2 separate regions of the Homo sapiens genome follow, and region 2 is linked to region 1. Evidence: promoter capture Hi-C in 16 types of primary human blood cells and fetal thymus (Javierre and others, 2016). All regions are on one chromosome and are shown on one strand. The core of a region is centred on a gene start or on the middle of the fragment in contact, and the rest is flanking DNA. Distances in the headings are between cores, read along the strand shown. Region 1 holds the start of SMIM30 (small integral membrane protein 30). Region 2 overlaps LOC105375457 (a long non-coding RNA gene).

Region 1 (2,700 bases), core at 37-2,536:
TGGAAACAATGAAAAATGTGAAACTCCCTTATTTACTGATTCTTGGAACCTTTCACACACCAAATCTCAGGTTTAGCCTCTAAAGCGCAAAGGTTTTCAGGGTGAGGTTTGACTCAGTAGGCCTTTCAAAGTCACATCTGTCCATTTCTTTTTCGTGCATATACCCCCAAGCAGGCACAAATGCCTGTAATGCTGAGAACCACACCTAACAAAAGGGCGATTGCATCACCGGCTTCTACTGCTTCCACAACAGGCAGCACCAAAAGCAGTGACATGAGGACTAAGGACAACTGTGTTGAAACTGAGGTCATGATGTTGGAATCTTGAGGGCTGAAGGTTCCTAGAAATTAAACATGGAAACAAAAAGGAACCATTAAAAATTCCTCCCTTTTCAAATGACAAAATGAACACATGACAAATAACAGGCCAGCCAATCTTTTGGATACTTTATGAATCATTTCCAATCCATCTCCTCATCTTATAGGTGGAAAAACAGAGGGACGTTAAAGACAGTAATTTGAGGTTCATCTCCCTATCTCGTGATAACACTCTAAACCCAGGAATTTTCCACGATAATGCCAACACCTCGTGCATCAACCAAACAAAAATTGAACAGGAGTTCATAATTAAGAACAAACAGAAAAAAAGCACGAGCCACTAACTTGGAAACTTAAAATATCCTAGTGGGTAAAAATTGTACATTTTCTTAGGGTCTCTCCCATCCAAGAAATGCAGACAAATTTGGCAAAAGTCACACAACATATAACTCTGCGAAGTTGTGGGGAATTAATAAGACTTACCAAAGAAATGGTATATATAGAATTCTATCTGACTTGAAATTTTCCCTTCCTGGAGCTCCGGATGCTGAGATTAAGAGGTTCCACGTGACACGACCTATTATTAGCATGGGGGGTGGGGAGGGGGCGGAGAGAAGGATTTAAAAATTAATTATTATTACTATTATTATTTTAAAGAGGCAGCTAGAGTCAGTGCAGAGCGTGGAGGCCATATGGACGGTAGGGGGATAGGTAATGAGTTGAGAAAAGTCTGTCCAACAGGGAACTAGACTTAAAAGTTGGTCAGTTCACCCACACAAGAAAAGGTAAAAAGAAACAGAACAGAGATAATTTCATTTCAGGACTTGATATTAAGATTTGAAAAAGAATTCGTACTTTGGCCCGGCAAGGTCCAAATTTGCTCCTGTTTTACAAATACACTGGTGCAACCTAAGTATCCTTTGGAGACGAGTTCGTACATTACCTTCTAGGAAGCAGCCATTACAGGAATGGCGAGGAGGGCGGAGTCTCCAAACTACATTTCCCACAATCCCTGCCGCCGCCGACTCCTATGATGCCCCGGCGCGTTCCCCCTATAAGTAGCAGAGGGCGTGACGGTCACGCTCTAGCGGAGGCGAAGAGTCGCGAACGCGCGGGACTTCCTTTCCCTGCCCAACGTTTTACTATTAAATAGATGGTTTCGTGTGTTTATATAAAAGCTCACTTCAAAATAAAAGAAATGATAGCAAGTGTTTTCTACCCTGTTGAGTCTGTAAGGCGCACATGTAATTTTGTCTTTTTCTTCGACTGAAATGACACAGCGGGGAGAGAGAACCCAAGTACAGCCCTCTGTTCCGGGTGCTTTTAAACCAGTGGCTTCCAACGTTTCTGAAGCAGGAAATCTCTGTCACCATCTTCCTAATGAAACATATGCCATTTATTAATTTTTTAGTCAATGGGGAAAAAGCGCGGTTAATAAGACATATCGTAAAAGGTTAAAAAACATTTGTAGTGCAAAATAAAGTTTAGGAAAAATGGGTTTAGCCCTGTTGCAGAAGATCTCTCAGGATTCAGGTCCTAAAGTGACAATCTATTCAGGAGTGCACTGCGGTGATTCCTTCCCACCTATGTTTTTGTGAAACCTCAGCCCCAAATGTCCCTACATATTTGTGAAAAGATGTAAAAATACTGCTTTTAAATCATAAAACAAGAATTAGTTATTTGTATATGTAAGTCGTAACCTTTCTGAAAGGCGCTCTTTCAATTGTCTGCTAATTGTGAACTCCTTACTGAACCTTTCTAGTCATCTGATCTTCTGAACTCTTTCATATTTACTGATTTGAAAATTTATTTGCTATCCTTACATTATAAATTATTAATGATGAGGGTTGGGTGTGAAGCCACCTGCCTGGTCTGAAAGTCCCCTGGTTCAGTCTGTTAGATAATGCAGGTACGTTCAGTTCAATGCCAATAATTAGCATGTATTCTTGTGTTGTCGGTTACCCTTTTTCTTACACGTTCCTAGTCTCTCTAGCAAAGATTTATATTCTTGGCTCCTAACCGGCACCCAGCAGGTGCTCAGTAATGTTGCCTAATAATAATAATGATTTGACTAGATAAATATGCCAACAAGATCTTATGAGAGACCGAGAGGTGCCAAATAAACCAAACCAAGGTGACTAGAAAATTGGAAATCTGAGAATAACTGCACAATAACGTCAGCATTGTTTCTCTAACCTTGATTATTTTAACAAGGTTTTGTTCATTTCATCCTTTGTTTTGAGCTACTTTCGTGCCTTTGTAATCAATTATATTTGGAATAGGAGTTATATTTTTATAGCTTCCAAAATATTCTCTCATATCCTACTGTGAACATTTTGTTTTTCCCTACATGTTTATTTTTCCTTATGTGTTTATTTTAGTT
Region 2 (2,826 bases), core at 194-2,693, 690 kb before region 1:
TGCCGCATCATGTAAACCAAAAATACAATTATAAGTCCTGCCAGCCATCTGAATGCACCCCTCCTCTTGGCCAAGGGGATTCCAAAGTTAACCTAAAAAATTAATTCAGGCCATGATGGGAAGTGGGATCCACACATGTCTCATTATGCCCTCATCCTTTTTGTAATTACTGATAGAACAGACTCTTTGAGTCTGATAAGAATTTACAATCTATTCTCCCTGAAGCCTGCTACCTGGAGGCATCATCTGCATGATAAAACCTTAGTCTCCACAACCTCTTATTGTAACCCAGTCATTTCTTTCTATTGATAATAACTCTTCCAACCAAATGCCAATCATAAAACCTTTAAATTTACCAGTTACCTGGAGGCCCCCCTCTGAGTTGTCAGGCCTTTCTGGACCTAACCAAGGTACATCTTATATACGTTGATTCATGTCTCATGTCTCCCTAAAATGTATAAAACCAAGCTGTACCCCAATCACTTTGGGCACATGTCGTCAGAACCTCCTGAGGCTGTGACACAGGTGTGTCCTTAACCTTGGCAAAATAAGCTTTCTAAATTGACCAAGAGCTGTCTCAGATACTTTTGGTTTACAATCAAAACATGACAGAAGGCATCACAAGGGTGGGCAAGAGGGGGTTGAATTCACTGTCATAACAAACCGACTCTCAAGATAATGACATTAATCAATTTATTAGGGCAGAGCCCTCATGACCTAAACACCTCCAATTAGGCCTCACCCCACAATCCTGTTGCATTGGGGATTAAGTTTCCAACACATGAACTTTGGGGGAAAGTTCAAACCATAGTGGAAGCAATTGCTGTTAAGGTGGCAGGGCTAGCATGTTGAGGACAGCAGTGCTCCTCTGCCAGCCCTAAACTGATCACCACTGGATTTTTACATGTGAGAGAATTACATTTACACTACATTTTCATCATTCTATTTTGTGGTCTTTTTGTCTCAGTAGCTTAGCAATTACCCTAATAAACTCCTTTCTTTCATTTTTAAAAAGGAATATGAATTCATTGTAGAAACGTAACTTGATGATAAGTAGAAAAACAACATAAACGATAGCTATTGATCCCTTTTACTGATTATTCTGTCTTCTGTGTTTAATTGCTTTCTTTTCTTTCTCCTACTCACAAGCTTAGACATACCCCAGAACTATCTCTTATCTTTCTATGCTCTATCACAGAGAATAACTCATGTAGTGCTTGATTTCATCATTAATTTGTTCACTCATTCAAAAATATCTAGTGAGACCTACATTCTGTGAAGTGCTGCGGATAAAAAAATGCATCAGATGTGGCTCCTATTCCCAAGGAGATCACAGTCTGGAGAGGAGAGGGAAAGGCAGCTATAAACAGGTCCTTTTAACACAGGGTGCTGAGTGCCTTGATGGAGCACTGTATGTGTCATTACAGAGGAGGGCACCTCACCAGCTTGATGGGGGCAGAGGGGTGGGTCTCTATGAAGACCCCCAGGAAAAGGTGAGCCTGGTAAAGAGAGTTTAGAAGGAGGAGGGATGAGGGAAAAGGGAGATAATTCTCAGCCAAGAGGTCAGTCAGGAACCAAAAACCCAGATGTAAAAACTTTCAAGGCATTTGCCAGAAATGCAGTATTGTGCTGACATGTGAGAAGTGCAAAGCAAGGGTGTCAAGAGCTGAGCTGACAAAGGGGTGAGATCACACAGGCTTTGCTTATAATACTATGGAGGCTTGGGCCTTCTCCTGATGAAGCTTTAATGAAGAGTATTAACCAGAAGTGTGAGATTATCAGATCTACCCATAGATAGAGTATTCTGAGCGGCTGGGTGAAGGATAGGTTTCTAGGAGGTAAACAGGGTGGAAACAGGGAACGAGTTTGGAAAAGCTATTTGCAATGGAGTAGTTAAGAGGCAGTGACAGGTAGATCTAAGGTACTGGAATGAAGAATGAAGAAATAAATGAACTTGAGAAATACTTAGGAAATTAAATGGGCATGGCTTGGTGACTGAAGAGGAAATAGGATGAAGGATAAAAGATGACTCCTGGGGGTCTCACTTGGGTGGCTGGCAAGATGAGGGTGACACTGTTAGTGGCTTAGCTATCATCTGCTTATGAGGTGGCTTATCGAAGGTAAGGAAGCTTAACCTTCAGACTCCTTTCCTTGCATGAAGCCATTCAAAGGCTCTGGGAAGGGCCCTAGCAAATTTTGTATACTTGAATCTGTATTCTTTTTCTTAAACAGAGCCCCTACCCTTTTAAAGCTGGTATTAGCTTCAGACACACAAAACCTGAATCCACCCTGCCCGTCCCCTTTCAAGTCATCTTTCTTATTACCAGTAGATTAATCTTCCTCAAAACAAAACGTTGACATCATGTCAATCCTCTTCTCAAAAGCTATTGTCATCATGACAACAGACTTTATTAACTTGACAGTTTTACTTTGGGGTGGCCCTTTACTGCCTCTAAAATTCATCTCCCTACAAATCTTTCTAGTTCAGAAAAGTAACTTTGACCTGTCTGTCCAAAAGCAGGAAAATAATTTACAAATGTTTGAACTCTTTGGTTCTTAGACCTATCTACCAATTGAGTTGCCTTAGTTGCAATTACTCCGTTGTACTTTCTTGTTTGTCTCCCATATTCTTGCTTTGTTTTTATCCCAATTGTGGCTTTTTCTACTTTAAAACACTTGCCTAATCTCAAACCTGGCTATTCAGTTGTGTTTGGCATGTCTTGTACCTAAAGAAACCACTGGCCTATGCACACATCACTCTGTATCATAGTCGTTGGGCACATCCAGCATGTGATTACACTTTAGAATTCTGTTTTTGGTCACGTT

The links. The method cuts DNA at HindIII sites, captures the fragments that hold promoters and counts their contacts. A CHiCAGO score of 5 or more calls a contact.
Region 2: a fragment that was not itself captured here is called in contact with the fragment with the promoter of SMIM30 in region 1 in 1 of 17 cell types (naive CD4 T cells); the score reaches 5.2 in naive CD4 T cells.

Annotation. Positions count from the first base shown.
Region 1 is chr7:113,117,268-113,119,967 of GRCh38, forward strand. SMIM30 (small integral membrane protein 30) reads right to left here and starts at 1,287. Exons shown (of 3, transcript NM_001352688.2): 1 at 1,261-1,287; 2 at 801-894; 3 at 1-340. The coding sequence starts at 311. The coding sequence ends at 132. The region is part of intron 2 of LOC107986837; the gene reads left to right. RefSeq lists enhancers at 1,058-1,652, 1,547-1,686. The HindIII fragment of the contact is 11,880 bases long and covers 1-2,700 here.
Region 2 is chr7:112,426,537-112,429,362 of GRCh38, forward strand. LOC105375457 (a long non-coding RNA gene) reads right to left here. Exons shown (of 3, transcript XR_001745325.2): 3 at 1-2,826. It also overlaps a transcript of IFRD1 not described here. Among named protein-coding and RNA genes, the nearest start is that of IFRD1, 23 kb to the right of the region's middle. The HindIII fragment of the contact is 593 bases long and covers 1,148-1,740 here.